Regions from separate parts of the Homo sapiens genome. Here all the other regions are linked to region 2. Evidence: promoter capture Hi-C in 16 types of primary human blood cells and fetal thymus (Javierre and others, 2016). All regions are on one chromosome and are shown on one strand. The core of a region is centred on a gene start or on the middle of the fragment in contact, and the rest is flanking DNA. Distances in the headings are between cores, read along the strand shown.

Evidence for each region. Contacts are between HindIII fragments. The CHiCAGO score rates a contact against its expected background, and 5 or more counts as called.
Region 1: a contact is called between a fragment that was not itself captured here and the fragment with the promoter of HM13 in region 2, in 1 of 17 cell types (non-activated CD4 T cells). The highest score is 5.0, in non-activated CD4 T cells.
Region 3: a contact is called between a fragment that was not itself captured here and the fragment with the promoter of HM13 in region 2, in 2 of 17 cell types (M2 macrophages and M0 macrophages). The highest score is 6.8, in M2 macrophages.

Annotation. Positions count from the first base shown.
Region 1 is chr20:31,745,441-31,749,283 of GRCh38, reverse strand. The region is part of intron 2 of TPX2 (TPX2 microtubule nucleation factor); the gene reads right to left. Among named protein-coding and RNA genes, the nearest start is that of TPX2, 8.1 kb to the right of the region's middle. The HindIII fragment of the contact is 2,013 bases long and covers 1,122-3,134 here.
Region 2 is chr20:31,511,995-31,515,867 of GRCh38, reverse strand. HM13 (histocompatibility minor 13) reads right to left here and starts at 1,426. Exons shown (of 13, transcript NM_178581.3): 1 at 1,134-1,426. The coding sequence starts at 1,316. RefSeq lists a silencer at 760-829. The HindIII fragment of the contact is 3,704 bases long and covers 1-2,732 here.
Region 3 is chr20:31,696,575-31,700,007 of GRCh38, reverse strand. All of the region lies in intron 2 of BCL2L1 (BCL2 like 1), which reads left to right. All of the region lies in intron 3 of BCL2L1-AS1 (BCL2L1 antisense RNA 1), which reads right to left. Among named protein-coding and RNA genes, the nearest start is that of BCL2L1-AS1, 23 kb to the right of the region's middle. RefSeq lists enhancers at 574-623, 1,007-1,954. The HindIII fragment of the contact is 1,887 bases long and covers 845-2,731 here.

The DNA.
Region 1 (3,843 bases), core at 879-3,378, 230 kb before region 2:
TCTTATCCACTGCCTATTTATTTAAAAATAGACATTTAAGCTGGGCGCGGTGGCTCACGCCTGTAATCCCAGCACTTTGGGAGGCCGAGGCGGGTGGATCATGAGGTCAAGAGATTGAGACCATCCTGGCTAACACAGTGAAACCCCGTCTCTACTAAAAATACAAAAAAATTAGCCAGGCGTGGTGGTGGATGCCTGTAGTCCCAGCTACTCGGGAGGCTGAGGCAGGAGAATGGCGTGAACCCAGGAGGCGGAGGTTGCAGTGAGCCGAGATCGCGCCACTGCACTCCAGCCTGGGCAACAAAGCAAGACTCTGTCTCAAAAAAAAAAAAAAAAATTCACATTTAAATAGATAAATAACAAATGTCATGGAGCAAGAGATAATAACTTCCAAATACTGTCTACTGTAGGCCAGGCACCTTACCAGACACTTCACATAAATCATCTCGTTTAAACTGCATTAACAATATAGACAATAGATAGATGTCTTTATAAATAAATGCTACCATCACCATTTTATAAACAAGGAAACAAGCTCAGAGAAGTTACACTATTCCAAGATCACCAAACTAATACATAGCAGTGTTGAGTTTTAAAAGAACAAGTCTGCAGGATTCCAAAATCTGGGGTCTCTCTAATGCACAAGTTTTCCTATAAACATTGCTTCAAAAAGGAGGTAGGTAATCAAATCATAAGATCCTGTTCAACAAAGACAAATCCTGCCCTTTATGAAAACTAAGCATCCCTGATATGCTCATAAAGAAAACTTTAGCAAATTACAAATCCTGTTATAAATATATTTGGAAAGCTCTGATCTGAATCTTCCCATAAATTTTTTAAAAAATCCATTGATTCCTCTTTTTTTAAGTATACTTTTCCATATGAAGTTTTTCCTCTATATAAGATGGTGGTTAGTGAAAACCTCAGTGATATTCTAGAGTAAAGAGACTATGAAGAGGGTTCAAGCAGCAGAAGAAAGGCTGTCCTCTGAGGTCTAAGACTACATTTGATTAGTGGGGAACAAACGGCGAGGGGTGCAAACCTAAGTACACTTAATCTTTAGGTGAAATTTTAAAAACAAAATATTATTTTCCTAACATGACCTGTTCTTTAAAAAAGCTTCTTTTAAGCTATATTTTGGTCTAGAATGGCCAACTCAGGAGACCATCCCCTCTCCCTGGAAAAAGAGAATAAATAAATACATATCCATTGAGAAGTCTGACTCTCTTCAATTAAGGCTGATAGGACAAGTACATCAAGAAAACGAAAAGCTAACTACTGGGTAATTTCGGTTTCACGACACTACCTCCCCCAGAAATAATAAATATGAGGATGTGAAATCTTCCAAAATTAAAGTCCACAGGGCCTAGTGGGAAATGGAACAGGCCAGAGCCAAAGGCAGCTGTTTAAATGAGAGAGCCCCAGGCATGGTGGGAACTGGATGCCTTCCTGCGTCCCTTAATCAAGATTGAATTTCTGTCAACAGGTCTCACCAAAAAAAAAAAAAAAAAAAAGGCACATGCGTCAACCACATTCCCCCAAACAAATCAAGTTGCCAAGCAAGAGAATCAGCTTCACATTTCAAAATTATCTGAATCTACCACAGCTTCAGATTCTTGCAAAACTAGAAATATTCTGCATGGAAAAATAGCTATTAATGACCAATATTCCTACAAAGACCCAAGGAAAAAGCCTATCCTGTATGCTATGAACCAATTAGGTTCCTCTAAAAACTGCCTATTCAATGCCATCCATCGTGTCTTATAGCCCATTTTTGTTTCCAAAAAGCGAAGACTAAAACGATAGATAGATAGATAGATAGACAGACAGACAGACAGACAGACAGAGATAGAGATATAAAATCTCGGCCGGGCACAGTGACTTATGCCTGTAATCCCAGTACTTTGGGAGGCCAAGGCAGGCGGATCACGAAGTCAGGAGTTCGAGATCAGCCAGGCCAACATGGTGAAACCCGTCTCTACTAAAAATACAAAAATTAGCGGGCGTGGTGGGTACGTGCCTTTAATCCCAGCTACTCGGGAGGCTGAGGCAGGAAAATAGCTTGAACCCAGGAGGTGGAGGCTGCAGTGAGCCGAGATTGCACCGCTGCACTCCAGCCTGGGACAGAGCGAGACTCCTTCTCAAACAACAACAACAAAAAAAAATCTCTTCCCTCCAAGAACGCACAATTGAATGGGGGAATGCAAACAATTACAATATAGGGCTATCCTTGCTGCAAGAGGGCATTAACAGAGAGCGCTCTGGAAGTGCAGAGAAGGAGAACAGCATAAAAGAGGATCAGAGATGGTTTCCTGATGTAAAAAATACTTAAAAGATACAGACAGACCTGCGGAGTTCTACAAGCTAAGAATGAACGTTGACTTTTTCTAGGGTAAGAGATAAATGGAAGGGGAAGACAAATACAAATTAGGAAGATTGCAGACAAAGCAATGTAACCTGTTCCCACATTCATCTGAAATTAACCTCCCATTGCCTCCCATCTTTCTTCACTCTCAAACCAAAAATAACTAGTCTTGACAAGCTCTATAAATCAAAAGGTGCAGGTTCAGACCGGGTTGGGGAAAGCTGCAAGAGGGTGCATTCTAAGCAGGGTGAAATAGGGGACTACCAGCTCCTGAGCAAAACAAAGACTTTGGTGTGACAGATGCTCTCAAACACCTTGCTATCCAGTCAGTGAGATATGACTTGCCTATTTCTATTAAAGAGAAAGTCATGAGTTAAACTGGTAATATAATAGAATAAACAGAGTAAGACAAGACTTCATTAGAAGTATAGTTAGTTAAGATGGTCCCATCCCAGGCAGTGCCATTTCTCCAGGGACATCCTCTCCTACTTTCACAAGGGATAAGAGATCCTGTTACATTACCACAAGTAAAATAGAGTGGAGTTACTTTCATCTTACCCAGAGAGAAAACACCTACATTTTTTTCTTGTATATAAGGGATTAGCAGCAGTCAGTAAATGGCAACATAATCCAGCATGCAATTTTAACTGTTAATCAAAGTCACAAACTAAGTCTGAAGGAAGTTTAATGGACTTTGTGTTTCCACATTTATGTTTGCTAACTTCTATGTTGAAATTGGATCTGTTTACAGAAACAGATCTATGAAGCTTCCAAAATTGGGTCAATTTAAAATCCAATGACAATCCCTCACTGTCCAACACTCAGAAGTCAGCACAGGACACATGGACACTTGTTCTAATTCATCACTGTCCAGAAACTTCAAGCAAATATATTTCCTATCATTTCTCTCCCAAACTTGTATGTTTCATATTGCCCTTTTTTAAGGATTACAAACTCAGTTTTGCTATAATTTATCCATAGAACTCAACAAACCATAATCCACCTATGACTAATAGGACCTAGATGGAAATCAATGATGCTGTTTACTACTAGGACAGATAATGACAGAGAGCTTTGTAAAATACTAAAAGGAAATCTTAGTAGAAACCCAAAGTAATCTGATATTCCAATAGTATGAAGCTGAAAAAGTTTGTAATGGTTGACAGTGTGGCTGCAGATTACAATCCTAGTCAAATAGCAGTCATTTCATTTTATAGAGATTTATTCCCTTCAAAAGGTATCTGGTTTGGGGAATAACACACAAACACTCAAACCCAAGAACCTAATAAAAGTGTTTATTAGATGGCTCATGCCTGTAATCCCAGCACTCTGGGAGGCCAAGGCAGGTGGATCACCTGAGGTCAGGAGTTCAAGACCAGCCTGGCCAATATGGCAAAACCCCATCTCTAATAAAAATACAAAAATTAGCCAGGTGTGGTGGCGTGCCTGTAATCCTAGCTACTCGGGAGGCTGAGGCA
Region 2 (3,873 bases), core at 177-2,676:
CTCAGGTCTGGGTGGGGGAGGAGCATCGGGAAGGTGCAGATTAAGAGGTTGTGGAGGAAGGGAGAGGGTGCCAGGAAGTGAAAAGTCATTGGTACAACGGGCTAGAAAGGGCTTAATATAGGGAAGAAGTGGGGCAGGGAAGGGGGAGGGAGAAGCAGAAGGTGAAATGTGCTGGAGTCCTCCTAGTTATCCAATAGGACAGATGTTGAGGAAGGCCAGGGATGGAGTCTGGCCCAGTCTCACAAGAGGGGCCAACAGTGGCCCAGCAGACAGGCCCAGTTTGGTGGGGGGATTGTCTTGGGGGTATGGGGAGAAGGGCTACTTTGAGATAGGGTCAAAGGCTGGGTGGGAAAAGGGTTACAGGTTAGGAACAAGGTCTAGGTTTTGACTAGGCCATGTCCAAGGTTGGATGGTAGTTAAGAGAGGAAACCAGGAAAATAAGACGTCCATGCCTAGTTGGAAAGTAGAGGCACCAAGATGCCAGCTTCTGAGGAGCCAGCTGACTGGGATGGTTCCAGAAAGTGATGTGAAAAACTGGGCTCTAAGAGATCATTGTTTTTGAGGCAGGGGCAAGGGCCAGGTGTGGGGGATCTAGGTGAGCACATAAGGTGCCATAGATTCCAGTGAGACAGGAGTCAGAGTCTAGGGATGGGTCTGGATGGTAGAAAGGGCCCTGCGGTGGGCTGAGGCAGGGTTCCTAACAGGGAATGACACGAAATTGTACCATTCAGTAAGTTGTGAGGACCAGTATCCATCAGGTATACATGATGGGGCTGATCTGCCTGGGCCCAACAGGCTCAGAACAATCAGTGCCCGAGTCGCAGTGGGGGACGGGCTGACAGCGTTCCCAGCCGCGGCATGATGCACAGGGAGGGAAGTGTCAGGGTCCGGGTCGGGAGCAGAAGCAAGTTCCTATTGGGGAAGGTATCATACCCTGGTCGGGGGTCGGTGCCCAGATCCCGGGGTAGGAAATGCCAGCCCCGGAATGTGGGCCCGAGACAGAGGGAACGGTGGTGATCAGGGCTGGGAAGAGTCAGTGTCCGGGGAGAGGTGTCTGTCCCGCCTAGGAAGGGTCCATGTCGGCCGTGTTCGGTATGGGGGTGGAAAGTGCCCGGTTTTCCCGCTGACCCTACCTTGCCGCGGGCGCAGCGTACGGAGCGCAGGGCGCCGAAGAAGATGGGCAGCAGCGCCATGAGCAGGAGGCTGCCGTAGGCCAGCGCGATGCCCTCGGGCGTGGAAGGCGGCCGCGTAGTGCTGTTGGTGGGGCCGCCTGCCTCGGCACTGCCGTTATGCGGATCGCTGAGGGCCGAGTCCATGGCGAGGGTGCGTTCGGGATCCGACTCCAGCTCCGGTTGCTGCAGCAGGGACGCAGGCGGAGACACCGGCTCTGCAGGGAAAGCCACGTTCCCCTAAGGCAACAGGAAGTGACGTGCTCCCTCCCAAGCCCGCGCCGCGCACGCGCGCACACACGCTTGCACGCACGCGCGCGCGCGTGCACGTCTCCCCGCCCGCTCGCCCTCTAGCGGTGGCCGAGGGCCGGGCGGCGGGTTGCTAAGCAACTTGTTAGCGGTCCGGACAGGGGCTCTGGGCCACTGCGGTGGGCATGCGACCCGAATGCCCATTTCCCAGTCCCAGCCGGTCTCCTCAATCCCCTGCTGTCCACTCTCCGCAAATCCTCATATTCCGAATAACTAAGAATGTGTTTATTCATACATGCATTTATTGGGTATCCAATTGTTTATTCACTCCTTAAATATTTATTGAATGTCCCTCAATATGCCAACAACTGACCTAGGCTCTGGGGACACTGAGGTGAACAATACAGGCAAAAGTTCCTCCTTGCCTTCGTGAAGTTTGCATTTTAGTGCAGTGTGTGTGGGGGGACGTTGGGAAGACAATAAAGAAACTGAACAAAATAAAAGTCTGTAAAATGGGCTGGGCGCAGTGGCTCACGCCTGTAATCCCAGCACTCTAGGAGGCCGAGGCGGGTGGATCACCTGACGTCACGAGTTCGAGACCAGCCTGACCAATATGGTGAAACCCCGTCTGCACTAAAAATACAAACAATTAGCCGGGCGTGGTGGCACGCACCTGTAATCCCAGCTACTCGGGAGGCTGAGGCAGGAGAATCGCCTGAACCCGGGAGGCGGAGGTTGCAGTGAGCCAAGACTGAGCCATTGCACTCCAGCCTGGGCAACAAGAGCGAAACTCCGTCTGAAAAAAAAAAAAAAAAAAAAAAAAAAAAAGGCCAGGCGCGGTGGCTCACGCCTGTAATCCCAGCACTTTGGGAGGCCGAGGTGGGCAGATTGCGAGGTCAGGAGATCGAGACCATCCTGGCTAACACGGTGAAACCCCGTCTGTACTAAAAATATAAAAAATTAGCCGGGCGTGGTGGCGGGCGCCTACAATCCCAGCTACTTGGGAGGCTGAGGCAGGAGACTGGCTTGAACCTGGGAGGCGGAGGTTGCAGTGAGCCCACTGCACTCCAGCCTGGGCGACAGAGTGAGACTCTGTCTCAAAAAAAAAAAAAAAAAAAACAAGAAAAATTTGTAATTTGTAAAACGTTAATGTATAGTTATGTGTTACATAGCATGTTAATGCAGATAAATAGAGAAAAATAAAGCAAAAGAAAGTAAGGTGTGTGTGGAGTTTGCAAATGTATTGAGAGCCTACTATGTGCCAGGCAATTATAATACCTTACGAGTTCATGCCCCTGTACAATTTATAAAGCTTTGTGGCTCTTTTCAGAATTTGAAGAATCTGTTTATTTATGTGATTCTTATTTTTGATATTGTTAAAAAAGTTAAAAATATATATTTTCTTAGACATGGGGTTTTGCCATGTTGGCCAGGCTGGTCTCAAACTCCTAGGTTCAAGTGATCCTCCTGCCTCAGCCTCCTAAAGTGTTGGGATTACAGGTATGAGCCACTGCTTGCAGCCTACTGTGGCTATATTAGATACTGGAACATCTAAGCATCACTGTGTGACTGTGCAAACAAAAAACTTCAAGGAGGGCCTATTATTATTATTATTATTATTATTATTTTGAGACAGGGTCTCACTCTGTCACCCAGGCTGGAGTGCAGTGGCATGATCACAGCTCACTGCAGCCTCTACCTTCTGGGCTTGGGTGATTCTCCCACCTCAGCCTCCCCAGTAGCTGGGACCACAGGTGTGTGCCACCACGCCCGGCTAACTTTTTGTGTTTTTAGTAGAGATGGGGTTTCGGCATGTTGCCCAGGCTGGTCTCAAACTCCTGGGCTCAAGCAATCTGCCCACTTCGGCCTCCCAAAGTTCTGCAATTATAGGCATGAGCTGCCACCTCCCGCAAGAGTGCCTATTTTATTTTATTTTATTTATTTTTTATTTTTTTTTTTGAGATGGAGTCTTGCTATGTCACCCAGGCTGGAGTGCAGTGGCACGATTTCGGCTCACTGCAACCTCCAGCTTCCGGGTTCACGCCATTCTCCTGCCTCAGCCTCCCGAGTAGCTAGGACTACACGCACCCGCCACCACGCTCGGCTAATTTTTGGTATTTTTAGTAGAGTCAGGGTTTCACCGTGTTAGCCAGGATGGTCTCGATCTCCTGACCTCGTGATCCGCCCGCCTCGGCCTCCCAAAGTGCTGGGATTACAGGCATGAGCCACCGCGCCCGGCCAAGAGTGCCTATTTTAAAAAAGATTTCTATGTGTTGAGGCAGTTGTTTACTGCAGAATTAAGCCCACTTTAGGCTTACTACCAGCTTCTATCTAAAAATATTGACTGATAACCGAAAGTGTTCTAAAGGTGGTTATTCTGATCTATAGTTTTTTTGTTTGTTGTGAGACTGAGTTTTGCTCTTTTTGCTCAGGCTGGAGTGCAATGGCGCAATCT
Region 3 (3,433 bases), core at 539-3,038, 180 kb before region 2:
TGCATGGGCCAACTCAGTTACTCAGCTTTGACACTGTTGGGTCTAGTTGGTACCTTTGTTTCCTTTTGTGTTATAGATGGAGGTGATCTTTCAAATCTCCTCTGCAGAGATCCAATGGGATAATGGTTGACTACCATTTATTGAGCACCTAGCCCATGTCAGGTACTCTACATGCATTTTCTCATTTAATTCCCTCACCTAGACTGTGTGCTAAATGGTCCATTAGCCCTACTTTCTTTTCCAGTAAAGAAACTAAGGTTTGGATAAGTGAAGTTGCATGCCAGGGTCCTGCAGCTTTACGTGGTGAATCCTGGATTTGGACCTAGATTGGGCTGGCTCTAAAGCCAGGCTTCTTTCCCCTGCTCCACTCTTGGAATAAATGAAGGATTGTTGGTTCAGGATATGCAGAAAGCTGCTTAGCAAAAGGAGAGTTGGAGAAGCATCTTGGTTTGAGGGTCTTGAAGGACACCTACTGTACTCCCAGCTGAGAGGACTCTTTCTCCTCATCTTCAGGAGGATGCCTCCAGAGCCTGGGGTTACTGTAGGCCTTTGCCAGAGGCATGTTCGGACTTAGCCAGCTGAGTATCCCCTGTTTCCTGCTTTTACCATCTCAGCTGCTGGTCAGGAGGTTTGGGAAGGTGACATCATCTAGCTGAATCAGCTGCTGCTTCTAGATACATTACTGGAACTGAAAGTCATTACCCCTTCCTTCCTGCTCTGCAAGTCTCTTCAGAATGAGGCTGGAGTATGGGTGTTCCACCTGTCTGCAGGGTCATGACTGGAATGGTACTTGCTGCTTTTAAAGAGCTAAAAGGTTTTTAAAAGCTTGTTCATGGAAAAAGCTTTCCTCAAGGCTTCTCAAGCTAAGGGAACAGAGCGTCCTTGAGAGGCAGGAGGATTCACAGGAAGGCCCTCCCCGACTCCCTCTTGTCCACCTACATTTAGCCATATGACCCTTCTGATCTCCTTTGCCTAAGTCCGAGGCTTAGGCCTAGCACTGTAGGATGGGTAAACAAAACGTTATTTGTGGACTTTTTGACCTTAAGACTTTTAGAGTCTGGTCAAGGGGACAAAAAAAAACTGCTTACATTTCAGAGCAGACCAGCCACCACACTATTGGAGATATATTGGAGATCTCCCCTTGACTCACTAATTGAAAAGCAAAAAAGGGCAGGTGTGGTGGCTCATGCCTGTAATCTGAGCACTTTAGGAGGCTGAGGCAGGCAGATTGCTTGAGCTTAGGAGTTTGAGACCAGCCTGGGCAACATGGCGAAACTCTGTCTCTACAAAAAAATACAAAAATTAGCCGGGTGTGGTGTTTCGCACCTGTATTCCCAGCTACTCGGGAGGCTGAGATGGGAGAAACACTTGAGTCCAGGAGGTCAAGGTTGCAGTGAGCCATGTTCACACCACTATACCCCAGCCTAGGTGACAAAGCGAGACCGTCTCCAAAAAAAAAAAGAAGGAAAATCGACTGGGTCCAGTAGCTCATGCCTGTAATCCCAAAACTTTGGGAGTCTGAGGTGGGAGGATCACTTGAGCCCAGGAATTCAACATCAGCCTGAGCAGTACAGTGAGACCTCCATCTCTACAAAAAATTTGTCAGGCATGGTGGCACATGCCAATAATCTTGGCTACTCAGGAGGCTAAGGTGGGAGGATCACTTGAGCCTGGGAGTTCATGGCTGCAGTGAGCTATGAACACATCTCACAGAACTCCAACCTGGGCGACAGAGCAAAATCCTGTCTCAGAAAAAAGAGTCATTGGAGGGTTTTGAACCAAGAAATGACAGTCCGACATACATTTTTAAAGGATCACCAGGCTGGGCACGATGGTTCACGCCTGTCATCCCAGCACTTTGGGAGGCCGAGGCAGGCAGATCACTTGAGGTCAGAAGTTTAAGACTAGCCTGGCCAACATGGTGAAACCCCATCTCTACTAAAAATACAAAAATTAGCCAGGCATGATGGCGTGTGCCTATCATCCCAGTTACTCAGGAGGCTGAGGCAGGAAAACTGCTTGAGCCCGGGAGGTGGAGATTGCAGTGAGCTGAGATTGTGCCACTGCACTCCAGCCTGGGCAACAAAGCGAGACTCCGTCTCAAAAAAAAAAAAACAGCAACAGCACATGCTGAGGATTCTGTTCAGTGGTTTCCACTTATCAGTATAGCACCTCATTAATCCTCCCAACAGTTTTATGAGGTATGCTCTAGTGGTATCCACATTCTACAGAGAAGAAAACTGAGACTTTGAGAGGTAAAGTCACCTGTTAGGCCGGGCACAGTGGCTCACGCCTGTAATCCCAGCACTTTGGGAGGATGAGGTGGGCAGATCATGAGGTCAGGAGTTTGAGACCATCCTGGCTAACACGGTGAAACCCCGTCTCTACTAAAAATACAAAAAATTAGCCGGGCGTGGTGGCGGGCACCTGCAGTCCCAGCTACTTGGGAGGCTAAGGCAGGAGAATGGCATGAACCCGGGAGGTGGAGGTTGCAGTGAGTCAAGATCGTGCCACTGCACTCCAGCCTGGGTGACAGAGCGAGACTCCGTCTAAAAAAAAAAAAAAGAAAGTCACCTGTTAAAGATTACACAGCAAACTGCCAGCATCCAAAGCCTGTCCTCTTCCCTCTTCCATTTGAATAGGCTCCTTCCAGCCAACATTCATGTATATTCTATCCAGGCTCCAAAGTCCAGTACCAAGCCAGTCTTTTCCAGGAAGCCTTCCCCAAGCTTATCTAATGGCCTGTCCCTCTATTGAGAGCTGATCTACAGAGCTACCATCCATTGAGCACTCCATGGGTGCTAAGTATACTGCTGAATGATTTAAATATGTTATCTCATGTAATATTCCAAGGAGCCATATGCCCTGTGACATCCATTTTACATGTGAAAATAGTGAAGCTAAAATATAGGCACATGCCATCATGCCTAGCTAATTTTTTTTTTTTTTTTTTTTTTGAGATAGAGTCTTGCTCTGTTGCCCAGGCTGGAGTGGCTTGATCTCGGCTCACTGCAGCCTCCGCCTCCTGGATTCAAGTGATTCTCCTGCCTCAGCCTCCCGAGTAGCTGGGATTACAGTCACCCACCACCATGCCCAGCTAATTTTTGTATTTTTGGTAGAGACAGAGTTTGACCACGTTGGCCAGGCTCGTCTCGAACTCCTGACCTCAGATGATCCACCCGCCTCGGCTTCCCAAAGTGCTAGGATTACAGGTGTGAGCCACCACACCCGGCCGACTAGCTTATTTTTAAATTTTTAGTAGAGACAAGGTCTCACTGTGTTGTCCAGACTGGTCTCTAACTCCTGGGCTCAAGCAGTCCTCCCACCTTGACGTCCCAAAGTGCTGCGATTACAGGCGTTAGCCAGCAGTGTCTGGCCTCTAATGACACTTTATTCATGAGAATAAATGCCAAAATGTATACAGTGCATGGGC